Linked DNA regions of Homo sapiens: all the other regions are linked to region 1. The links are contacts of gene promoters, found by promoter capture Hi-C in human tissues and cell types (Jung and others, 2019). All regions are on one chromosome and are shown on one strand. Each heading gives the region's core, a stretch centred on a gene start or on the middle of the fragment in contact. The rest is flanking DNA. Distances are from core to core; before and after follow the strand shown. Region 1 holds the start of ZNF106 (zinc finger protein 106). Region 2 holds the start of TYRO3 (TYRO3 protein tyrosine kinase). Region 3 holds the start of TGM5 (transglutaminase 5). Region 4 overlaps MGA (MAX dimerization protein MGA).

Region 1 (3,058 bases), core at 191-2,690:
ATGCTATTTACAACAGTACTAAGCTCTTAATAAGCACTCAAAAGTTATCTGTGGGCCGGGCGTGGTGGCTCAAGCCTGTAATCCCAGCACTTTCAGAGGCCAAGGTGGGTGGATCACCTAAGGTCAGGAGTTGGAGACTAGCCTGGCCAACATGGTGAGACCTCGTCTCTACTAAAAATACAAAAATTAGCCGGGCGTGGTGGTGGTGCACGCCTGCAATCCCAGCTACTCGGGAGGCTGAGGCAGGAGAATCTCTTGAAACTGGAAGGCGGAGGTTGCAGTGAGCCAAGATCCCGCCACTGCACTCCAGCCTGGGCGAAAGAGCGAAACTCCGTCCTAAAAAAAATAATAATAATAAAAATAAATAAAAATACAAAAAATTAGCCAGGTATGGTGGTGGGTGCCTGTAATCCCAGCTACTGGGTAGGCTGAGGCAGGAGAATTGCTTGAATCCAGGAGGCGGAGGTTGCAGTGAGCTAAGATCGCGCCACTGCACCCCAGCCTGGCAACAAGAGCGAAACTTTGTCTCAAAAAAAAAAAAAGAAGTTATTTGTGCTTTGAATAAACTGGATATAAACCATTATGGTGGATACAGCACTTATTTGCTAGGTAAGAGAACTTCGCTTACCTAGGATGACAGTCTCAAGTTGCTAAAAGCCACGGATATCTCAAACTTCTCAATAAGATGCCTTAATCTTACTCTCAAAGATGATTACACAACAAATTGAAAGGGGAAGAGGATGTAAAGCATTTCCTCTCCACAATTATACACCGAGATTCGGACTAAATATTAAACGGACACAGTAAGCTGTTGTTACTATTTGTTATTAGTTGTTATTATCAAGACGCATCCCACAAGGAGAGAAACGAAAGGAGGAAAAAGAACGGAGGTTGTCAGTCGCGAGAGGTTGAAATGTGTCCCTGGCCTGAGACCTACGGGCTTTAAGGACCAGGGTCTTTGGACTCCCTGCCCAACTGGGGACGAAGGAGGTCAGTGGCTTCCCCTAAAGGTCAAGGCTTTGGAGCCACGTTTCCTTCTGGGGCTGGGAGCAGAGCTGGAACGCCCCCGCGAAAATCCGTACCCCGAAGCCAGCAGCACCGCCTGCCCATAAACCCGCGCCGGCTCTGGGAGAGTGGACCACCAGGTTGCCCCTGAGCCGCAGCCTGCAGGAGTAGAAACCCGGTGGTGTCTTGCAGCCCCACAACCTCCCTAAGGGGCAGACGACCAGGACCCTTGGGCTCCGATACGCTCAACGCAGGCCGGCCCGTCGATACTCACATTCACAGCCAACCCCTCTTACTCCATCAGGCCGCCGAGAGCCAGGCGAGGGAGCTCCCTGACGCCTCAGACGCCCCCTTCAGTTTTGGGTCCGGGAGCCTGCTCCGGACCCGCTCCCCGCCGGGCCCCGCCACAGCCGCCGCCAACGCGCAGGCGCACACCGAAGCCGTCACGCTCGCTTTTTTTTCCTTTGCCGTCCGCAGTTCTCAATAATCTAGCTTTATTTGAACACAAGAGAGTGAACAACGGACACACAGGAAGAGGTTTTTCTCAAAAAGAATGGAGGAAGAACAAAGGCAGGCCCGCTTGCGGGAGAGTCAGTACGCAGCGTTGGACGCTATGAACAGCCTCCCTGGTCCCTTTTTCATTCTCCTTGTTTCTCCTTGTTCTTTCCCGGCCTCCCTGTAGCTCCTACTCTCTTCCTTGGTGTCCCGCCATTTCCTTTAGTCAGTGGCAACTGTTCGGGCTACATTTTGAAAACACTCCTTCCTTGTAAAACTTTCTGAAGTTGAATGGAAGGTGCAAGAGCTTTAGAACAGCCAGACCTGAGTTTCAGATCTTGGACTAGCTACGAATAATTTGTGACTTTGGGTAAATTACAATTCTTCTTGGAACCTCAGGTTCTTGAGTTAAAATTAGGATAATGTTATCTCACAGGGTGTTGCTAGGATTAAATAACATAGGTCAAGTGTTTATCTATGAATGCTGCCTATCACAGAGCAGACATTCCATAATACTGACTTTATTCTTACTCATGCCTAAGGTATTTATAATATTTTTTAAGTAGAGACGGGGTTTCACCATGTTGCCCAGGCTGGTCTCAAACTCCTCGGCTCAAGTGATCTGCCTGCCTTGGCCTTCCAAAGTTCTGGGATTGCAGGTGTCAGCCACCGCGCCCAGCCTACATTTATTATTTATTTATTTAGTTAGTTAGTTAGTTAGTTATTTTGAGATGGAGTCTTGCTCTGTCGTTCAGGCTGTAGTGCAGAACCGCTCTCTTGGTTCACTGCAACCTCCACCTTCCGGGTTCAAGCGATAATCCTGCCTCAGCCTCCCAAGTAGCTGGAATTACAGACGTGCACTACCACGCCCAACTAATTTTTGTATTTTTAGTAGAGATGGGGTTTCGCCATATTGGCCAGGCAGGTCTCAAACTCCTGACTTCAAATGATCCGCCCACCTCGGCTTCCCTAAGTGCTGGTATTACAGGTGTGAGCCACCGCGCCCGGCCGCCTATATTTATTATTAAACTTAGCCCATACCCATTCCCTCAGAAACCTAATTTTAGTGACTAAGACTATCAGATAAATGAAATGACATTCAGGTTGATAATTATGTGGAGTGTCCCTCCTATATTATTGAGATTATAACATCTCTGTTTAACAAGACCTTCAACGTCTCAAATAAAAGTAAGCAGCGGTGGGGCACAGTGGCTCACGCCTGTAATCCCAGCACTTTGGGAGGACGAGGTGGGCAGATCATGAGGTCCAGAGATCGAGACCATCCTGGCCAACATGGTGAAACCCCTTCTCTACTAAAAACACAAAAATTAGCTGGGCGTGGTGGTGCGTGCCTGTAGTCCCAGCTACTCGGAAGGCTGAGGAAGGAGAATCGCTTGAACCCGGGAGTCGGAGGTTGCAGTGAGCCGAGACCTCGCCCCTGCACTCCAGCCTAGCGACAGAGCGAGACTGCGTCTCAAAAAAAAAAAAAAAAAAAAAAAGAGAGAGAAAAAAGAAAGGAAGCGGCTATATTAACCTCTTCTATGTAAATCCAGATTTG
Region 2 (3,007 bases), core at 162-2,661, 930 kb before region 1:
CTGTTGTTATCATTAGGGTAATTAATAAACAAGCACTGCTGGGGCCAAGTGGAAGAAGAGGCAGGCCCCTGCTGCTCAGGAGAATCCCTGAAAAGATCCAGTGAGCCTGCGGCAACCGGAGCTGAGTGGCTGGTCCCTCCTCTCTACCCAGGACCTCTGGAAGGGGTGTGGGGTGGGCTTCCCCCTGGAGGGAAGGGCAAGGGGAGGAGCACACTTGGTAGGCTTGGTTTGGAACCAGCTCTGCATGTGCCTAACAGGATGTCTGTGGGCAAGGCCACCCTCGTGATTACTGGTTGTGGGGCAGGCTCTGAAGCAATTATTCATTCATTTAACAGGCATCTGCCTATTTATTTATGGAAAGCCTACTGTGTGCAAGGTGGTCTACTAATAATAGCTAATGTTTGACTGGACAGTGTGACGACACAGCCAACTTTCACACCAGGTCCTGGGAAAAGGGGTAGAAGCAGGGGAAGCAACCAGGAAAAATGACAGCCCAAAAAGATACGGGCAATTAGGCTTTGGCCTGTGTAGTGTAGTGGTGGGGATATATATTAGGTAAAACCTGGGGATTACCAAGATCTTGGGAAACTCAGGACCCAAGTTGGAAAACATACGGCAATTGGGGCTGGAGAAAATGGGCATTTTTCAGGTGGGAGGGACTTGGAGATAAAGGCATGGCAATAGGACATGAATATGGGGATTTTGGGTGAATGGCTCAATGAAAGGGAGGCACGAAGGGATGCTAGCCGATCCTGTTGGGGGAGCCCCGGGTCACGGCAGTTTCGGGGAGCCAGATGGATGGGAGTGTCTAGGGGTTGAGGTGCTCTAAGTCCTGAGAGGGGGATGCTGGATTCTGGGATCAGAGTCCGAACAAGAGTTGGGGTGTGGTGGGGGCTGACAGCGGGGTTTTGAGGGAAGGCTCTGGAGGGCTGGGTTAGAAAAGATGCCGGAGCGGGTTTAGGGAAAGGAGGGGCGTGGCCGGGGAGCCCATCCTGGAGGCCAAGCCGGATCCTCAGGTTTGGCCAGGGGGCGGCTGGGGCCGGCGTGCCGGCGGGGCGCCGGCGGGGCCGCGGGGGTTTGCGGCGCTGGCTGGGATTCGCGCTCCGAGCCAGTCGCCGGGGCTCCGCGGGGGGGCGGTGCGAGCTCGGGCTGCGGGCGGGCCGGGAGGAGGCGGCGGCTCCGAGAAGAACATGAATCAGCGGCGGCGACGGCGGCGACGGCAGTGGAAGGAGCGCGGTGGCGCGGGAGCGGCCCCGGGGACCCCGCGCTGCTGACGGCGGCGACCGCGGCCGGAGGCGGGCGCGGGTCTCGGAGGCGGTCGCCTCAGCACCGCCCCACGGGCGGCCCCAGCCCCTCCCGCAGCCCTCCTCCCTCCCGCTCCCTTCCCGCCGCCTCCTCCCCGCCCTCCTCCCTCCTCGCTCGCGGGCCGGGCCCGGCATGGTGCGGCGTCGCCGCCGATGGCGCTGAGGCGGAGCATGGGGCGGCCGGGGCTCCCGCCGCTGCCGCTGCCGCCGCCACCGCGGCTCGGGCTGCTGCTGGCGGCTCTGGCTTCTCTGCTGCTCCCGGAGTCCGCCGCCGCAGGTAGGGGCTGGCACGGGAGGCGGCGGGAAGCGGGGGGCTGCGGAGGGGCGCGGCCGGGGGTCGGAGCCCGGGGCGGGCCTGGCGGGCTGGAGTCGGGGTGGGGGTCCGGAGCCGAAGGCCGAGGCTCGGAGCCGGGACAGGGCACGCTGCGGAGTGCTCGCCGCCAGATCTCCGGCCGGGCCCCCACCCCCAACTTTCTGGCGCTCGGGGCTCTTCTGGCGGGGTGGAAGAGAAGGGAGCGGGGTGTGGGCTGTGTGGTCAGCGGGGAGTGTTTGGGACTGCATTTTCCCGCCTCGATGTTCCCAGCTGTTAGCTCCCTCCTTCCCAGTACTGGGGACCCCATTCTGCCTGCCCCGCACGCGAAGGTCCGCCTCGGAAACCACACGGGCCGGGGCTGGGCACCCAAAGGCCACCCTGATACCATTTAGGTACACAGGGGCTGTGAGGGTGCCCAGTCACAAAAAACAAATGGGCACACTCGAGTTCCTGTGCCCTCAGAGCTTCCTGAAAGCAGAACCTTGGAGAGGATGGGCTGGTGCCAGGTTGCTGGTCTTTGGGAGGGGTTAGTCTTGTGTTCCCACATAGCCACTGAGGCATTTGCTGGTGACAAGAGCGTTCCATGCAGCACGGTGCTCTCCAAGTTCCCACCCCGCACCTCGGGGACTGATGGGCATATAGGGAGCGGGAGGCTGGCCCCCATCCTGTGACTGGTCCTGAGAGGGTGAAGGGAGCAGGGAAGAGCCACAGGCCAGGACAGCGGCCACCCGCTGGCATCTTCTCTTGAGACAGCATTCCTTGCCATATCAGCCTCTCAGGGAAGGGAAGGGAAACGGGGTGACGAGTATTTACAAGCCGAAAGGTGCGGACCTGATGCTCAGGGAGCCCACGACTTTGCCTAGAGTCACACAGCAAAGGGTGAGAAGAAGCAGGGCTGGATTTCAGTTATGTGGATACTTGACCTGCCCCTCTCTCTGCTTAAAAACATGCCAGGAGGCCAGGAGAGGTGCGTGTATGTGTGTGTGTGTGTGTGTGTGTGTGTGTGTGTGTGCGCGCGCGCGCGCGCGCTCGCACGCAAGTTCCAAAGAGTGGCCCCTGTTAATGTGGCAGTGGCTCAGGGGTCTTAGGCTCCCTGCTCAGGGCCCCAGCCCTCCCTTCTGCCTCCCACCTTCCTAGCACTCGCCCCTGCCCACATTCAGGTATTAATAGAGTGGATGGCTGCCAGGAAGGCTGCCATGTGTTTGATCTGACGTGGTTTTGCAGCCATATGTTCTCCACTTCAGGGGAGCACCCCCTCCTTTCCTTCTTCAGCCCTGCTCCATTTGGTAAGGTTGGGTGCAGAGGGTGCTGGCAGCAATTCAGGGTCTGGGCTGACACCTTGGGTGGAGAGCTGGCAGCCTGTTGCACTAGTTGGGTGCAGCAGTCATTC
Region 3 (2,781 bases), core at 97-2,596, 780 kb after region 1:
TCATTGACTACTGGGCATATTTGTTTTCCTTGAGGTGAGAGGAGAATGGGGTGAGATGATCAGGAAATAAACAGAAGACTGTAGAAAGAACTTTTAAAGTAAGTGATCTTAGTAGTTATCCTAGAGAGACACTCCCACGTGAGCACACAGAGGCATGGATAAGTATGTTCCTTGCAATATTGCTTGTGTAACCGGAAAATTGAAAACAACCTAAATGCCCATCAATAGGGGACAGGATTAGAAATTACTTGCACTGATACTATGAGAAATATTGAGGTAGATCTATAGGTACTGACTGGCATGGACAGAGCTCCCAGACATACTGTGGAGTGAAAAAAATCAAGTTGTAGAAATATACATACAATATGATGATACCATGGATATACCAAAAAAGACCACACATGCTAATCCTATGTATTACATTGAGTAAATGTATGTCTGAGTGTAAATGTGCAGACAAAAGACAGGTAACAGTGTTTACTCTGGAGATGAGGCTGCCATTGGGGATGGCGGGCAGAGGACTATAGCTTTATCTATAATTATTTATTTATTTTACTCCAACTATGTATTCCCATATTTCTTGTGCAATTAAAAGTTATGAAAATTTTAAAACAAAAATTTAAACACAAAAAGTAATAAATAAAGGTAAGGTTGTTACAGTTGTAGAGGAAGTTGAAAGCTTATTCCTCTAAATGATTTCAACTAACGATTTAATCTTCACAGCAACTCTTTCCAGAGTGAGGGGGATGATATAGAGAGAAGGTTGGTGATGGGAAGATTAGCTAAGATCAGTAATAGACCTTCTGAAATGGAGGAAGAAGAGAAGATATGAAGATTCAGAGAACTTAAGAGCTGGAAGACAATTTCAAGATTGTCTGGTCCAATCCCTCCTTTTTCAGGCAAGGGGGTTGGAAACTAGAGGCGAAGTGACTTGTCCAATGTCAAAGGGTCAGCTAGTAGCAGAGAAGGACAGAAACCCTGACCCCCTCATCTCTGGCCCTGCCCTGTCCCACCTGGCTATGGAGGCAGGCATGTTAGCAAGCAGCTGTGTGCTGTGTTTACCTGTCTGCCTCTACGCTGTCTCCTGGTTCTCAAGCCACCAATGAATACTGAGGTTTCTGGGATTCTTGCTTTTCCTGCCTCAGTTCTGTATTTACTTCTTTATTTCTCTGAATCCACCCTCCACCCCTTGACTTCCTACAGTCTCTCTCTGTCCTTCTTATCCCTGAACTCCAGTGGCCACAGGGGCTTTCCCTACCTTGGGCCATGGTAGCTGCCTCCGGTTCCTGGGATGCTCCCCACAGAACAGCTGGGCGGTCTGGAGCTTCAGCAAACTGGTGCCAGAGTGTCTACTTCCCCTTCCATTGGAAGCCTCCAGGAGAACCGAAGGCGGGGCTGGACTGCTGCACTGCCACCTGATTACCGAGCAGATCACAACTGGTTTGCTCACTTGCCCTCAGGTTTTTCTTGGCAGTGTTGCTGAATTGAAAGGAGGTGTGGAGGCTGATGAACTGTCACAGCCTTATGCCGTGTGGGCCTTTGATAGCTCTTGAGCAATAGGGCATTCCCAGGGAGGTGCTGTGCTGTGGTGGAGAAGTCAGGAGGGAGAAGCGAGCTGATGGGCCCGCCAGAGGGATGCAGGGGGCTGCTGGAAGGAGCATCAGGGTCCCAAGACTCTGCTCACAGCTTAAAGCACCTCATTGAGCCGAGAACCCTGCTAGGTAACCAAGGCCTCTCTTTTATCCTGAAAAGTCACTTCCTGAACATTAAATGCAAACAGAACCCTCTCTGTCTGGATCTCCTTCGGTATGATTTCACTGTATTTAGCTTTGGCAGTGGCATTGTCTTGCATGAGACCTGGCAGGTCCAAGACAAATCACAAATAAAAGCAAATAATCACAAATAAAATAGAGGAAGAAAAATTGGGAAGATTTGTGGAGGAGGTGTGGAAATAGGTGAGAGGGTGGGAATGCCGGTGAGCAAGGGCCTTGATCCTAGTAAGAAAGGCACAAGCCCTTTCATAGGGAGAAAAGCGCAGGTGGAAGGAGAGAGAGGGCAGGAGGGGGAAGGGCTCTGCCTGTGGAGTGGGTGGGACCCCCATGCCTACCCTGTCTTTCTGTGCTCTGGGGCACTTCTCCCCACATCCCCTGCTTTCTGGGTCCTTCTCCCTGGGGAACCTCTTTCACCAGCATTGTCCTCCCTCCTGTATTTTCAATTCTCTCTGTCCCCACTCAGCTCTTTTTTAAAACCTATGTAATTATTTTTATTTTTAATGTCCAGAATGTGTACTATAAGGGCCAGGGCTTCTTCCTGGACTTAATTTTATAAATTCTTGATTGGTTGGTGAGACCAATAGCGATACTTTTTCTTGTCTAATTTGGTTTCCGGGAAAGCTTCGTTCAAGTCGTCAATGGTCATCTGATCAAATGGTATTAAGTTCCTCATCTTCTCCAGCTGTTTCTCATATTCTCCAACCTGGCCTTTGAGAGAGACACCCACTCAGCACAAGTTTTCCCATCTTCTTTTTCTTCAGCATCCACCTGGGCAGTATATTTATCCTCTGGTACAGGAAGCTTCAGGACATTAAACTTCTTCTCAAAGTCATCCACCAAGCCTGCCTTGGCCACATTGGCCTTGTAGTAAGTCCAGTCAATAGCTGGTGGATTCTCAGGTAAAGTAGCCAGCCTGGAGGTGAGGGTCTCATTCCAGGATTTCAGATAATTAGCAATGGCCTTTTGGTTTTGGGGTATCATCTCTGCAAAAGCTACCCAGTCAATGGTT
Region 4 (3,061 bases), core at 314-2,813, 820 kb before region 1:
TAGGCATGAGCCACCATGGCCGGCCTCATTTCTTTATTATAACTTTTTATTGAGATATAATTCACATAACATATAATTCATCATTTTAAAGTATACACCAAAAAGAAATCCCACACCCATTAGCAGTTAGTCCCAGTTACCCCTTCCCCTGAAACCACTAATCTACTTTGTTTCTCTAGATTTGCCTGTGTTGGACATCTCATATAAATGGAATCATACAATATATGTGACCTTTTTCTTTATAACCTTTAATAATTAACTAATTTTAACTTTATTTTTTATTTTTTTAAAGAGACGGGGTCTCACTCTGTCTCCTAGGCTGGAGTGCAGTGATATGGTTATGGCTCACTGCAACCTGAACTTCCAGGGCTGCTGAAGGTGTCCTCCTGCCTCAGCCTCCTGGCCACCATACCTGCTATTTTTTTTTTTTTTTTGGTAGAGACTGACTGGCTATTTTGACCAGGCTGGTCTTGAACTCTTGACCTCAAACGTTACTCCCACATGGGCCTCCTAAAGTGATGGAATTACCGGTGTGAGCCACTGCACCTGCCCACCTGGCCTGTGTTTTAGTTTTTAAAGGTTGTGTGTTCACAAGACACAAAATTTACAAAGTGTAAAAGGGTATCTTTTCCAAGTCATCAAGTTTTCCTTGGATATGACCAATACTACTGTTTTCTTTTCTGTCTTTCCAGAGATAGTCTGTGTAAAGCAAATATGTACATGTTCTTTTTCATTCTTTGGCTTTTTATTTATTTTAAAGACCGAAATACTGTCTATTTCTTTGATTTTAAAAAGGAAAAATCTTTTACAAGGGTTGAAAAACTACCTATCAGGTACTATGTTCACTGCTTGGATGATGGGATCATTAGAAGCCCAAACCTTATATTATGCAGTAGACTCATGTAAACAAACCTGCACGTGTTCTCCCTGTCTGAAGTTTAAGAGGTACAATAAAAAACTTTTAAAAGATGTGTGGCATAATTTACAACTCTTCTGAACATTTTACGCTTAATATATCTTGTAGATACTTTTTGCATGCATTCATTAAGCTTATACATTCTCTTTTGTGACTGTTAACATTCCACTCTATGGATGTGTCATCATTTGTTTTACCATTTTAAGGACTTCTCTCTTCCTGTCTAGTCTTTTGCTGTTATAAGTGGGAATGCAGGGGATAATCTTGTATAGATATCATTTATCACAGGTGTGTGTATTTAAAATAAAGTCCTATAGTGGGTTTTAACAGTGAATTAAGAAAACTTAAAGTCCTGGGAACAATTCTTTGTCATAGGATGATATATGGATTTGTACTTTTGATATTTTCAAGTTGCCCTCTCTTAGAGATTCTATTATTTTATACTCCCAGTAACTGCTTAGGGGAGAATGCTGGTTGACCTAACCCTTTCCAGCACTACCAGGCTTTGATTTTTGCCAGTCTGATAAGTAAAAAAACAGTATCTCAAGATGACTTTAATTTGCTTTCCTCTTAACTATGTACATATTCATAGCCATTTGCGTTTATTATCCTTTACTCATTTTTCTGTTAGGTATTTGGTCTTGTTGATTTGTAGGAAGCCTTTAAAAATTATTATTACTGTTAATGTATTTTTATTTTTTTTTTTGAGTCAGAGTCTCGCTCTGTCACCCAGGCTGAAGTGCAGTGGTGCCATCTTGGCTCGCTGCAACTCCACCTCCTGGGTTCAAGCAATTCTCTTGTCTTAGCCTCCCGAGTACCTGGGATTATGGGCGCACACCACCATGCCTAGCTAATTTTTTTATTTTTAGTAGAGACAGGGTTTCACCATGTTGGCCAGGCTGGTCTTGAGCTCCTGACCTCAAGTGATCTGACCTCCTTGGCCTCCCAGAGTGCTTGGATTACAGGCGTGAGCCACTGCTCCCCCGCCGCTATTATTTTTTAATAGAGACGGACTTTCACTACGTTGGACAGGCTGGTCTGGGACTCCTGACTTCAAGCAATCCTCCTGCCTTGGCCTCCCAAAGTGCTGGGATTATAGGTGTGAGTCACCATGTCCAGCCCCCTTTTTATATTAGGGAAAGGAGTTCTTTATAAGTTGCAAATACCTTTTCCTGGTTAGTTTGCTTTTTGATTTTGCTTAAATGATTTTGCCAGATTAAAAAATTTACAGAATATTAAATTTTATTTTATTTTTATTTCTTTGAGACGGAGTCTTTCCCTGTCACCCAGGCTGGAGTGCAGTGGCGTGATCTTGGCTCAGTGCACCTTCTGCCTCCTAGGATCAAGTGATTCTCATGCCTCAGCCTCCTGAGTAGCTGGGACTACAGGCGTGCACCACCACACCAGGCTAATTTTTTAATTTTTAATAGAGATGGGGTTTCGCCATGTTGGCCAGGCTAGTCTCGAATTCCTGGCTTTAAATGATCCACTGGCCTCAGCCTCTCAAAGTGCTGGGATTGCAGGTGTGAGCCACCACACCTGGCATCATATAGTATTAAATTTATCACTTTTTTTTTTTTTGGCCTTACTGGTTTTAGATTTTGTGTCTTATCAAAAAACTTTTCTCAGGATTTAGGAATAAAAAAATTAAATATTAGAGTCATCTGGAATTTATTTCAGTGTAAGGTCCATTGAGTTCCAGTGATTTGTCATGGCTTCTTTAAACGTGTGTACTAAGAAGTTAGATAGCTTTTTACTTATTTATGGAACCATGTCTTCTGAACCATATGAAGAACTAATTCTGTACAATTAGCTCTTTGGGATGAAAATGGAACTTTACTTATTTAATTTACTCATCACTGGGGAACTTGCTATATAAAGGAATCTTCTGGTAAATTCATAAAGTGTTAGGATGCTTTAAAAATGCATAACCTTCAAATTTAACTTTTTAATTTTGTATACTTTTTTAATAATGAATATACTCTTTTGTTTCTTTGTGTGAGATTATAGTATTTATAGTGAATTGTTAGAGGATTAGGATATAAGCACCTTAACTAATTAGATTAAAATGAACTTTAAAAAATGATTAGATATTCCAGAGTAAATATTCTTACTGTGATTGAAAGAAAAGCTTAGAAGCAAAGT

Evidence for each region. The method cuts DNA at HindIII sites, captures the fragments that hold promoters and counts their contacts. A contact is called where the count stands out against the background at its distance.
Region 2: a contact is called between the fragment with the promoter of TYRO3 here and the fragment with the promoter of ZNF106 in region 1, in 1 of the 25 tissues and cell types used here (hippocampus).
Region 3: the fragment with the promoter of TGM5 here is called in contact with the fragment with the promoter of ZNF106 in region 1 in 1 of the 25 tissues and cell types used here (adrenal gland).
Region 4: a contact is called between a fragment that was not itself captured here and the fragment with the promoter of ZNF106 in region 1, in 1 of the 25 tissues and cell types used here (hippocampus).

Annotation. Positions count from the first base shown.
Region 1 is chr15:42,489,701-42,492,758 of GRCh38, forward strand. ZNF106 (zinc finger protein 106) reads right to left here and starts at 1,441. Exons shown (of 22, transcript NM_001366845.3): 1 at 1,280-1,441. It also overlaps a transcript of SNAP23 not described here. RefSeq lists enhancers at 914-1,103, 1,154-1,203, 1,504-1,613. The HindIII fragment of the contact is 10,038 bases long and covers 1-3,058 here.
Region 2 is chr15:41,557,801-41,560,807 of GRCh38, forward strand. TYRO3 (TYRO3 protein tyrosine kinase) reads left to right here and starts at 1,412. Exons shown (of 19, transcript NM_006293.4): 1 at 1,412-1,581. The coding sequence starts at 1,458. RefSeq lists enhancers at 831-1,332, 1,899-2,540 and silencers at 1,061-1,150, 1,096-1,262, 1,201-1,340, 1,351-1,520, 1,827-2,027. The HindIII fragment of the contact is 10,010 bases long and covers 1-3,007 here.
Region 3 is chr15:43,265,582-43,268,362 of GRCh38, forward strand. TGM5 (transglutaminase 5) reads right to left here and starts at 1,347. Exons shown (of 13, transcript NM_201631.4): 1 at 1,259-1,347. The coding sequence starts at 1,268. It also overlaps the pseudogene ATP5PDP1. The HindIII fragment of the contact is 9,168 bases long and covers 232-2,781 here.
Region 4 is chr15:41,665,643-41,668,703 of GRCh38, forward strand. The region is part of intron 1 of MGA (MAX dimerization protein MGA); the gene reads left to right. Among named protein-coding and RNA genes, the nearest start is that of MGA, 6.8 kb to the left of the region's middle. The HindIII fragment of the contact is 4,748 bases long and covers 1-3,061 here.